Regions from separate parts of the Homo sapiens genome. Here region 1 is linked to region 2. The links are contacts of gene promoters, found by promoter capture Hi-C in blood cells and fetal thymus (Javierre and others, 2016). All regions are on one chromosome and are shown on one strand. The core of a region is centred on a gene start or on the middle of the fragment in contact, and the rest is flanking DNA. Distances in the headings are between cores, read along the strand shown.

What was found. The method cuts DNA at HindIII sites, captures the fragments that hold promoters and counts their contacts. A CHiCAGO score of 5 or more calls a contact.
Region 1: a fragment that was not itself captured here is called in contact with the fragment with the promoter of CREB3L3 in region 2 in 1 of 17 cell types (naive CD8 T cells); the score reaches 5.2 in naive CD8 T cells.

The regions. Positions count from the first base shown.
Region 1 is chr19:3,978,238-3,983,888 of GRCh38, forward strand. EEF2 (eukaryotic translation elongation factor 2) reads right to left here. Exons shown (of 15, transcript NM_001961.4): 3 at 4,873-5,054; 4 at 4,570-4,781; 5 at 4,009-4,187; 6 at 3,710-3,815; 7 at 3,102-3,215; 8 at 2,604-2,742; 9 at 2,277-2,472; 10 at 1,571-1,829; 11 at 1,092-1,199. SNORD37 (small nucleolar RNA, C/D box 37) reads right to left here and starts at 4,335; the gene lies at 4,270-4,335. RefSeq lists an enhancer at 3,236-4,087. The HindIII fragment of the contact is 2,489 bases long and covers 7-2,495 here.
Region 2 is chr19:4,150,324-4,156,479 of GRCh38, forward strand. CREB3L3 (cAMP responsive element binding protein 3 like 3) reads left to right here and starts at 3,308. Exons shown (of 10, transcript NM_032607.3): 1 at 3,308-3,451; 2 at 4,576-4,704. The coding sequence starts at 3,425. The HindIII fragment of the contact is 35,033 bases long and covers 1,266-6,156 here.

The sequences.
Region 1 (5,651 bases), core at 1-2,500, 170 kb before region 2:
CTTAAAAGCTTTTCCTAGCAAGGCGGACCTCATACAGCCTGGTAGAGCCACGTCAATCAGAACGAAGCGGAGTCAGTGTTGCAGTGCCAAGCGCATCTCACTCCAGACAAGGACAAGGAGCAGGGGCTCCACTGAGCTCTCCGGCGCAGAAACCACGGGCTTGTGGAATTTTAAGCATTAACAGGGAAGAAACGAGGTCTGGAGCAGGCCTGTCCCAACCCCTCCAGAGCATTTGTGTTGTTTGTGGACAGAAGACAGCAGGATGTAACTCAAAAACTGCCCCGGAGGCCGGGCGTGGTGGCTCACGCCTGTAATCCCAGCACTTTGGGAGGCCGAGGCGGGTGGATCACGAGGTCAGGAGATCCAGACCATCCTGGCTAACACGGTGAAACCCCGTCTCTACTAAAAATGCAAAAAATTAGCCGGGCATGATGGCAGGCGCCTGAAGTCCCAGCTACAGGAGGCTGAGGCAGGAGAATGGCGTGAACCTGGGAAGCAGAGCTTGCAGTGAGCCAAGATCACGCCATTGCACTCCAGCCTAAGCAACAGAGCAAGACTCTTGTCTCAAAAAAAAAAAAAAAAAAAAAAAAAAAATAGCCCTGGGCCAGGCATGGTGGCTCACACCTGTAATCCCAGCACTTTGGGAGGCCGAGGCAGGGGGATCACGAGGTCAGGAGATCGAGACCATCTTGACTTACTAACACAGTGAAACCCCGCCTCTACTAAAAATACAAAAAAAAATTAGCCGGGCGTGGTAGCACGCGCCTGTAGTCCCAGTTACTCAGGAAGCTGAGTGAGGCAAGAGAATCGCTTGAACCCGGGAGGTGGAGGTTCTAGCGAGCCAAGATCACGCCACTGCACTCCAGCCTGGATGACACAGCGAGACTATCTCAAAAAAAACAACAACAACAACAAAAACAGCCCCACATGCCTGTGGAAGACTGCAAAGAAGAAACTTGAGGAACTTAAGAAGCTGAGACCAAGACCGAGATCAAGTCTAGGCGTCTGCAGAGCCTAGCTCAGCTCAGCTTTAAAGCAGAGGGCAGGTGTCCGGGGTGGGGCGTGGGGAAGGCTGGTCACTGGCGCCTCACCTTGATGGGGATGCAGGCGTGGTCCTCCTCCAGGTCCTTCAGGCAGATCTCCAGGTGCAGCTCGCCGGCGCCCGCGATGATATGCTCTCCCGACTCCTCGATGATGCACTGAAAGGGATGCGGGTCAGCACCAAAGGGGTAGGCGGCTCGGAACAGGCGGGACCAGGCTCCCAGCTTCCCTTTAGCTAGGGACCCCGCCAGAACAAGATTTCAGGGAAGGTGCTGGGAAACTGGGACCAGCACAAACTCCTGAAGAAATGTTAAGTCCCACAAGCTACAGTGAACACGCGCAGAGCAGCCTAGGAGAGGGTGGTGGCTGCCTGGGCAGGAGTCTCCATTTACAGCCACAGCCAAGAACCCCTCCTTTCATGACCAGTCACCCCAATCCACCAACCACAGCAACCCACACAGCCACAACTCAGGACACAAGCCGTCCCCCCTCAGGGTGTCTGCTCCCAGCAGGTGCACTCCGTGCCCACCTGCACCATGGGGTCGGACTTGGCCAGCCGCTTCAGCCCCTCCACCAGCTTGGGCAGGTCAGCCGGGTTCTTGGCCTCCACGGCCACTCTGACAACAGGGCTGACGCTGAACTTCATCACCCGCATGTTGTGCGCGTGCTCGAAGGTGGTGATGGTGCCCGTCTTCACCAGGAACTGGTCCACGCCCACGAGGCCCACAATGTTCCCACAAGGCACATCCTCGATGGGCTCCACGTAGCGGCCCATCATCAAGATTGTTCTGGAAGAAGCAGAAGGCGGCAGCAGGCCGCAGGGATGGTTGTGCTGGACCCTGGAGGGCCAGGGCAGGTCCCTCCCGGAGTTGGTGGCCCTCCTGCCAGGTCCCAGGGCAGACTGGTGGCTTCCACAAGGCCCTGACTGCTGCGTCGGGGCTGTCAGGAAACATCCTCTTCAGAATCACTGCCCTCCTCCCTGGGTATGGGTCGACGGCCGCCACCCACCTGTGCCCAGGGACACAGATGAGCAGGGGTGTGCTGTGCCCTGGGGCTTGGAGCTTCTCCAGAAATGCCCTCACTGGGCTAAGAACAAAAGTTGTGGCTGGCACAAGTATCACCCTATATTCCTTCTATGCTCCTTACTTCTAGCTCCCGACTGAGGAGCCCAAGACTTGGAGCAGGGCAGGGCCCGCAACAGTGCCAAGGGGCCTGCACATCACCCAGCTGCTCACCTCTGGATTGGCTTCAGGTAGAGGTCCTCCTTCTTCCCAGGGGTATAGTTGGGCCCCATGATCCTGACCTTCAGGCCAGTGGAGACCAGCCCCGAGAAGACTCGTCCAAAGGCGTAGAACCGACCTTTGTCGGAGGTTGGCACCATTTTGGAAATATACATCATAAGAGGGCCTTTGGGGTCACAGCTTTTAATGCCTGAGGGACAGAGAAAACCCGCAAGCTTTATTCCAGTGCAGCTCAGCCTTCTGGAACCCTGCAACCCACAACCTTGGGCAACAGGAAGTCATCCGGCTGCATCTCAGGGCCCGGCCACCGGGACCACGTACCCATGGCAGCCTCGTCGTCCGGGGGCCCCTCGTACAGGAGCTCGCAGCGGTACTTCTGGGCCGTCACAGGGGAGGGCAGGTGGATGGTGATCATCTGCAACAAGGCGTCTCCGGCAGGCAGCCAGCGGCGCATCACAGCCTGCGGGGGCAGAGAGCGGTGCATGAGACACCTGGGGAGCCCAGGATGGCCCCACCCCGTACACGCTTCCTCTCTTGAAGCCAAGGAAGCCAAAGTCAGGACTAACGTTCTCCAAAGCACAGTCCCTTCTGGAAGGCGGCAAAGGCCATGCACACTCCTGCCAAGGCCCTCACCCACACCTGTCCCGGATGGGGCTGGCTGCTGGGATGTGTCTCCAGCAGCACCCAGAGTCTAAAGCGAAAGGGGCAGCAGCTGTCCCTGCCCAGCTGAGGACTTCAGCCCCCAGGCCTGGGCTGTCAGAGCATCCGGAAACAGCAGCCTGTGTTCCCTCCACCCCGAGGGCTGGGCCCAGGCCGCACCTTCAGCAGGGGTTTGCCTTCTTTGTCCTTGTCCTCGCTGTCCAGTTTGATGTCCAGTTTCTCTATCAGTTTTGCTGTCTCCTCTTTCTTGAAATTCATGATCGCATCAAACACCTACATTCCCCACCAAGAAACAAGAAAGCCCATTTGGGAACAGCAGGAGGAAGCCTGGCACTGCTTCCTGCTTGGAAGACTCAGGTCAGCGCAGGGGGACGCAGCACGGGAGCAGGAGCAGGCCTGGCCTGCCTACCACGGGCCCAGCCAGCTGAGCGGATCGGGAGCTGGAGGAAACCTCGTGGTGGAGCAGAGGAAAAAGCCCACTCTGACTCAGACAAGGACCCAAGTTCTGACTTACAAGCACTGAACCGCCAAAGCCACAAGTTATTCAACCCCCTCAATGCAGGAGAGGTCCCAAGGCTCTGGCTATGCAGTCCAGATCTTAAGAGAGGAGCCCTGACTCCACCTCAGTTAGGAGCTGTGCCTCCTCCCATCTCGCATCTGCCCCACAAGGAGACGGGCCCAGTCAGCCGACAGGCTACCGGCCGGAGCCCACAGGGCCGAGGGCCAATAGTCGCATCGGCGGGGTGCCTGGCGCAGCCCTCACTCACCTTGAAGATGGGGTCCAGGATCAGCTGGCAGAAGGTGCGTGGCAGCTTCTTCCCTTCGGGGCTGGTGGCTGACTTGCTGAACTTGCCGTTGGCTGGGTCAAAGTACCTGGCAAGGAGAGGCCAAGCCAAATCAAGTTAGGGTCTCCAGGGGATGACTTGGGGAGGGTGGTCGCCAAGGGGACATGCTTGGGCAAGACCTGGTGGGCTTGAGCCACGCTGTGAATAGCACACCACGCCCCTACGTCGCTGCCACTACCCCCAGGTGTCAGGAATCCCCCACCATATCCCGCGGGGCTCACCTGTCACCCCACAGCTTCTTCATCATGTCCTCTACTTTCTTGGCCCGCTCGGCAGGCCCCAACTGGCCCTCCCCCTTGGCGGCGAACTTGGCCACATACATCTCGGCAAACTGCTTCAGGGTGAAGGCCCACCCGTGGAGGCCAGACCCAAAGCCCACGGTACCGAGGACAGGATCGATCTGGAAGTGTGAGAAACGAGAAGCAGCCGTGAGGGCCCCTGCGCAGAGCCTGAAGCTACGGGCTGGGCGCCTTGGGCATGGGCCTCAGACGCAGGCTTTCTTCAGTAGACATCTGGTCAAAGTGAAGAAATGATCAGTCATCACGAATAGGGGGGCCAGCCCCTCCACCACCCAGGGCAGCGTTCCCTGAGCTCGTCTCTTCCAGCTGCCCAAAGATCAAGGGCTGGGTCAAGTCGGATGAAAACATTCCAGCCCCCTTCTCTGTCACCCAACATTCCTGGCAAAAACACACTTCCAGTCCCCCTCAGCTCAACTCCACTCCCCACCGGCTCCTGCAGATCCCGCTGCGGCAAGCCCACCACCCAGCTAGGGAGGGCCGTACCATGATGTTGCCCATGGGGCCGCTCTCGCCCTCGCCGTAGGTGGAGATGATGACGTTCACGTTCTCCACGATGCGCTGGAAAGTCTGGTAGAGCTCCTCGGGCTCCAGCTGCAGCTCCAGCAGGGCGCGGTCCATCTTGTTCATCATCAGCACAGGCTTGATGCGCTCGGCAATGGCCTGCCGCAGCACTGTCTCCGTCTGCACGCACACGCCTGGGGACACGGGGGACAGGGCGGCGCTGTCATCCTCAAGCAAGGATGGCCCCCGGTTCCAGGCCGTGCCTCAGGGGGACCCACTGCTTACCTGACACGCAGTCCACCACCACCAATGCGCCATCGGTGACTCGGAGGGCAGCAGTCACCTCCGAGGAGAAGTCGACATGCCCGGGGGAGTCAATGAGGTTGATGAGGAAGCCGGCACCGTCCTTGCTCTGCTTGATGAAGTTCAAGTCATTCTCCGAGAGCTCGTAGAAGAGGGAGATGGCACTGATGGAGGGAGGGACTCGTCAGGGGGACAGGAGCCACACACCTGGCCCAGGGAGTCTGGGATGCTGTCAGAAGCCAGGCTGCTCCTCCCTCCATGACTCATCCCTGGAGAGGCTCCCACAAGAGCCAACCCACCCTTGTCCTTTGCCTCTGTCCGAGACATGCCACCCCCATGACAGGGAACTCCTGGTACCAGCCCCATAGCCAGATCCTCAGAGCCCTCCTGACCAGACATCCTGCCCCACCGACTTGGTCCCAAGATTCATCACACCTGACTCAAAGTAGCAACTAAAAGACCCAGCAGGACGGCAAAAGCCTCCAGAGACTCCGACCCTCCCCTCCTCACTTCTGCCCCTGCTCCAGGGGAAATGAAGAGCCTTAGCCAGAGTCCCTCACCAATGTACCAACCCAGGACAAAAAGCAGTTGGGGTCACCGTACTCTGCGCTCCCCCTACTCATATCGGGGCCAGAAACTGACATGGAATGAACATCATCCAGTGCAACACAGGAGCTTCCCAGCGTCCCAAGCACTAGAACACCCTCCCCTCCCAGGTGTGACAGCCAAACCTCTCCAGATATTGTAGGAGTGGGGGCAAG
Region 2 (6,156 bases), core at 2,058-4,557:
AGTTTATTCTGGTGTCTGGTGTGAGCAGGGAACCCACTCAATTTTTTCCCAAATAATTAATGCAGTCTTTCTCCCCCAGATCCCGTGGCTGTGGGGCAGGATTGCTTTCTGGGGTGGGGCCGTCCTGGGCACTGTAGGGTGCTGAACGGCATCTCTGGCCTTCACCCATTCTATGCCAGGAGCATCTCGCACTCGTGACAACCACAGATGTCCCAGACATTGCACAGTGAGTGTCCTGAGTTTCCGTCCGGAAGGTTGAGGCTGCAGTGAGTTTTTTTTTTTTTTTTTGAGATGGAGTCTCGCTCTGTCACCCAGGTTGGAGAACAGTGGCACCGATCTCGGCTCACTGCAAGCTCCGCCTCCCAGGTTCACGCCATTCTCCTGCCTCAGCCTCCCGAGTAGCTGGGACTACAGGCGCCCACCGCCACGCCCGGCTAATTTTTTTTTTCGTATCTTTAATGGAGACAGGGTTTCACCGTGTTAGCCAGGATGGTCTCAATCTCCTGACCTCGTGATCCACCCACCTCGGCCTCCCAAAGTGCTGGGATTCCAGGCATGAGCCACTGTGCCCGGCCTGCTGCAATGAGTTTTGATCACAGCACTGCACTCCAGTCTGCCCTAGTGGAGGGCAAGTGCAGTAATGTGAGTTAGTGTTGGATAAAAGAACCATATCGTGTGTGGCATATGGTAGCCCCTTATTGAATTTTGATTTCATGAATACATATGAGTGATCCATTGAAAAATATAAACCAGGCCGGGCGTGGTGGCTCATGCCTGTAATCCCAGCACTTTGTGAGGCCAAGGCGGGTGAATCACTTGAATTCAGGAGTTCAAGACCAGCCTGGCCAACATGGTGAAACCCCATCTCCACCAAAAATACAAAAATTAGCTGGGTGTGGTGGTGGGAGCCTGTAATGCCAGCTACTCAGGAGGCTGAGGCAGGAGAATCGCCTGAACCTGGGAAGTGGAGGTTGCAGTGAGCTGAGATTGTGCTACTGCACTCCAGCCTGGGCGACAGAGCGAGACTCTGTCTTGAGAAAGAAAGAAAGAAAGAGAGAAAGAAAGATAGAGAGAGAAAAGAGAAAAAAAGAGAGAGGAAAGAAGGAAGGAAGGAGGGAGGGAGGGAGGGAGAGAAGGAAGGAAGGAAGGAAGGAAAGGAAGGAAGGAAGGGGAAGGGAACCAGGATGTGAATTTTTTTAGAGCAAGGAGGGCACATAAATTACCCCTCTCAACCTAGCACATGGCACAGTGTCCAGCAAACAGAAAGCTTGATTTAGTCTCCTATTTGCTAAACTTCCAACAGTGCCCTGCTGTTTAGCACAAACCAAACTCCTTGCCACAACACACAGGGCTTTGCACGACCTGCCCCGTCCCCTCCCTGCCTTCCCCTCCTCCCTGCCTTCCCCTCCTCCCTGTCTTCCTCTCCTGCCTGTCTTCCTCTCCTCACTCTGCTCCAGCCACAGGGGTCTCATTGCTGTTCCTCCAATGCGCTAGGCACGGACCTGCCTCAGGGCCTTTGCACAAACTGTGCCTCTGCCTGGGACACCTTTCCCCAGACCTTCCCAGGGCCAGTTCCATCTCATCCTTCAGGACTGCACTGAACATGTCATTTTTTTTTTTTTTGAGACAGAGTCTCACTGTCGCCCAGGTTGGAGTGCAGTGGTGTGATCTCAGCTCACTGCAACCTCCGCCTCCTGGGTTCAAGTGATTCTCCTGCTTCGGCCTCCCGAGTACTGGTATTGCAGGCATGTGCTACCACACCCATCTAATTTTTATATTTTTAGTACAGATGGGGTTTCACCATGTTGGCCAGGTTGGTCTCAAACTCTTGACCTCAGGTGATCCACCCACCTCGGCCTCCCAAAGTGCTGGCATTACAGATGTGAGCCACCACGCTTGGTCTAATATGTCATCTGCTAAAGGGGGACTTTGCCTGGGCACAGTGGCTCATGCCTGTAAATCCAGCACTTTGGGAGGCTGAAGCAGGTGGATCATTTGAGCCCAGGAGTTTGAGACCATACTGGCCAACACAGTAAGACCCCATCTCTATAAAAAAAAAAAAACAAAATTAGCCAGGTGTGGTGGTGCACGCCTGCAGTCCTAGCTACTTGGGAGGCTGAGACGGGAGGATCACTTGAACCCAGGAGTTGGAGGCTGCAGTGAGCTATGATCCTGCCACTGCACTCCAGCCTGGGCAATAGAGTGAGACCCTGTCCTCCACCAACACCAAAAAAAAAAACAAAAAAACAAAACAGGGCTCCTCTCTCTTGGTAGGGGGTGGAGGGGAGGTCAGAGACACCTCTCAGCCACCCGGGCTGATTCACAAATATCGAACATTCACTAAAATGTCAATACAGTGACCTAGAGCCAGAGGGGAAGAGGGAGGGTACAAGAGGAGAGTTCCAGGCAGAGGGGCGAGCAGGTGAGTAGGTGCAAAGGCCCTAAGCAGGAACCAGTTTGGCTCCATAAATATTTGTTGACTCAATGAACGATAGAAGATTCTAGAGAGAATTGATTGCACAGAATCACCCATGGGGACTCAGAGGCGGAGTCCAAGCTGGTTTCGGAGGGGGCTGGGGGCCGGAGGTTGGCAGGTGGGGTGAAGGATGGGAGCCGCTAGCTGCTGGCAGGAAAACTGGCTTCAGTGAAGATCTGGTCTGGTCCTCTTGGTTTGTTTCTGTCCAGGGAGTGGACAGGACCCATGTAAGGGCCCTGGGCTATCCCAGAACCCATCTGGGAATTCTGAAGAGAAAAAGTCCTGTAACTGGCCGGGTGCGGTGGCTCACGCCTGTAATCCCCGCACTTTGGGAGACTGAGGGGCCGATCACGAGGTCAGGAGTTCGAGACCAGCCTGGAAAACATGATGAAACCTCGTCTCTACTAAAAATACAAAAGTTAGCCGGGCATGGTGATGGGGACCTGTAGTCCCAGCTACTCGGGAGGCTGAGGCAGGAGAATCACTTGAACCCAAGAGGCAGAGGTTGCAGTGAGCCGAAATGAGATGGCACCACTGCACTCCAGCTTGGGCCACAGAGCGAGACTCCGTCTCAAAAAAGAAAGAAAAAAAGAAAAAGTCCTCATAAGTAGGGCAGAGGTCACGGCAGAGTGGAGGTACCCCAGACTTCGACCTTTGCTCACTGAGGGCTGGAAAACCACAAAACACCCAGATAACGGTCTTCCCTCCCCTGCTCCTGCCTGCCCCAGTGTCACTGGCCCTCAACCCTGTCTCTCCACCCTGTCCACCAATCAGCACCTGGAGGTGGGCTGGGAGCTGCCTGTGACCGCTTCAGCATCTTTTGGGAGTGGTGACAGAGCCACAGAGGGCTGTGAGCTTGCCCGGCCCCAGGTAACGCTGGCGGTGGGTGGGCCTCCAGCTTGGAGCAGAGACCCCCCGAGGCATCTGCAGACAGAACTGGATGGACCCATGAATACGGATTTAGCTGCTGGAAAGGTGAGCCCTACTAGGTCCCCAGGGAGAGCGGGAGTCTAGGCTGGGAAAGCCTACCCAAGCTGCCAGAGCTGGAAGGACCCCATCTCCACCCCTATTGTACAGATGGGAAGACTGAGGCCCAGAGAAAGGATGCAATGAGCAAAACTGTGTGCCTTTGCCCCGGGGCTGCCCTTGTCTTTCTTCCAGGTCCCCCTGCCTCCTAGGAGCGGGCACTTGGGGAGGCTGTGAAGGCCTGAGAGGCAAGCGGCATCTCTAGCTAGGGCCTCTCTCCAGCACTTTTTATTTTATTTTATTTTATTTTTATTTTTATTTTTTGAGATGGAGTCTCCCTCTGTCACCCAGGCTAGAGTGCAATGGCACGATCTCAGCTCACTGCAACTTCCACCTCCTGGGTTCAAGAGATCTTCCTGCCTCAGCCTCCCAAGTAGTTGGGATTACAGGTGTGCACCACCACGCCCGGCTAATTTTTGTACTTTTCCTAGAGACAGGGTTTCACCATGTTGGCTAGGCTGGTCTCAAACTCCTGACTTCAGGTGAGCTGCCCGCCTCGGCTTCCCAGAGTGCTGGGATTACAGATGTGAGCCACCGTGCCTGCCATACTTTTTTGTTTTTTGAAACAAGGTCTTGCTCTGTGACCCAGGGTGGAGTGCAGTGGGGTGGCCATAGCTCACTGCAGCCTCAACCTCCTGGGTTCAAGGGATCCTCCTACCTCAGCCTCCCCAGTAGCTGGGACGACAAGTGTGTGCCACCGCAGCCAGCTAATTTTTTTAAATTATTTGCAGTAGGGATAGGGGTCTCTATGTTGCGCAGGCTGGTCTTGAACTCCTGGGCTCAAGTGATCCTCCTGCCCCGGCCTCCCAAAGTGCTGAGATTACAGGCATGAGCCACCACATCCAGCCTCTCCAGCACTTTAAGAGAAATTGGCTCTCACACTGTGGAATTCTCTCTATCAGCCTCAAAGTCCAGATTTGGAAAGGGAGTCTCAGCGAGGGGCAGCAGCTGGCCCAACCCGGAGGCAGAGCGGCAACTGAACTCTAGCCGGAAAGAGCCAGGGTTATGTGCACATGGGAGGTGGGGAGGACAGGGGCTGTATGTGACCCTCACATCTGTTCCTCGCGCCCCAGATGGCTTCTGCTGCCTGCTCCATGGACCCCATCGACAGCTTTGAGCTCCTGGATCTCCTGTTTGACCGGCAGGACGGCATCCTGAGACACGTGGAGCTGGGCGAGGGCTGGGGTCACGTCAAGGACCAGGTGAGGAGTCCACTGCAGTTGCCCCGGGACCACAGAGCTCCAGGCGGGCCAACTGAGGCCCCACGAAGGTGCTAGACCCGCCAGAGCCCAGCCAGAGCTCTGCTCAGCTCTACGATGCACTAATGGGTCACGGTGCTTGATTTTAGCCAAGCACATCATTTAGCGGGTAGCATCAGCTCCTTCTTACAGGTGGGGAATGGAGGCCCAGAGCAGGGTGGAAACTCATCCAAAGTCACACAGCAATTTGGAGTTAGGTTCAAACTCAAACTTGGGGCATCTCCCTGGCTAGGTTCGGTTCTCTTCTCCTTCCTCTCCTTCCTTTCTCTCTTTCTTCTTCTTTTTTTTTTTTTTGAAGGAGTCTCGCTCTGTTGCCCAGGCTGGAGTGCAGTGGTGCCATCTCGGCTCACTGCAACCTCTGCCTCCCGGGTTCAAGCGATTCTCTTGCCTCAGCCTCCCAAGTAGCTGGGATTACAGGCGCCCGCCACTGCACCTGGCTAATTTTTGTATTTTTAGTAGAGATGGGTTTCACTATCCTGGCCAGGCTGGTCTTGAACTCCTGACCTTGTGATCCACCCACCTCAGCCTCCCAAAGTGCTGAGATTACAGGCGTGTGCCACCGCGCCCGGCCCACTTTCTTTTTTTTCTTTCTTTTCTCTCTCTTTTTCTCTTTCCTTCCTTCCTTCCTTCCTTTTTTCCTTCCTTTCTCCCTCTTTCTTTTACTCTCTTTTTTTTTTTTTGAGATAGAGTTTCACTCTTGTCACCCAGGCTGGAGCGCAATGGCGCGATCTTGGCTCACTGCAACCTCCGCATCCCAGGTTCAAGTGATTCTCCTACCTCAACTTCCCGAGTAGCTGGGATTACAGGCAGCCGCCACCACGCTCGGCTAATTTCTTGTGTTTTTAGTAGAGATGGGGTTTCACCATGTTGGCCAGGCTGGTCTTGAACTTCTGACCTCGGGTGATCCACCTGCCTTGGCCTCCCAAAGTGCTGGGATTATAGGCGTGAGCCACCACACCCGGCCCTTTTTTCTCTTTCTTTCTCTCTCTCTCTCGTTTCTCTCTCTCTCTCTCTCTCTCTCTCTCTCTCTCTCTCCCCCCCTCTCTCTCTGTCTCTCTCTCTCTCCCCCTCCCTCCCTTCCTCCCTTCCTCCCTTCCTTCCTCTCTCTCTCTCTTTCTTAGACAGAGTTTCGCTGTTGTTTTGCCCAGGCTGGAGTGCAATGGTGTGATCTTGGCATACCGCAACCCCCACCTCCCAGGTTCAAGTGATTCTCCTGCCTCAGCTTCCCGAGTAGCTGAGATTACAGGCATGTGCCACCATGCCTGGCTAATTTTGAATTTTTAGTAGAGACGGGGTTTCTCCCTGTTGGTCAGGCTGGTCTCAAACTCCCGACCTCAGGTGATCTGCCCGCCTTGGCCTCCCAAAGTGCTGGGATTACAGGCCTGAGCCACCGTG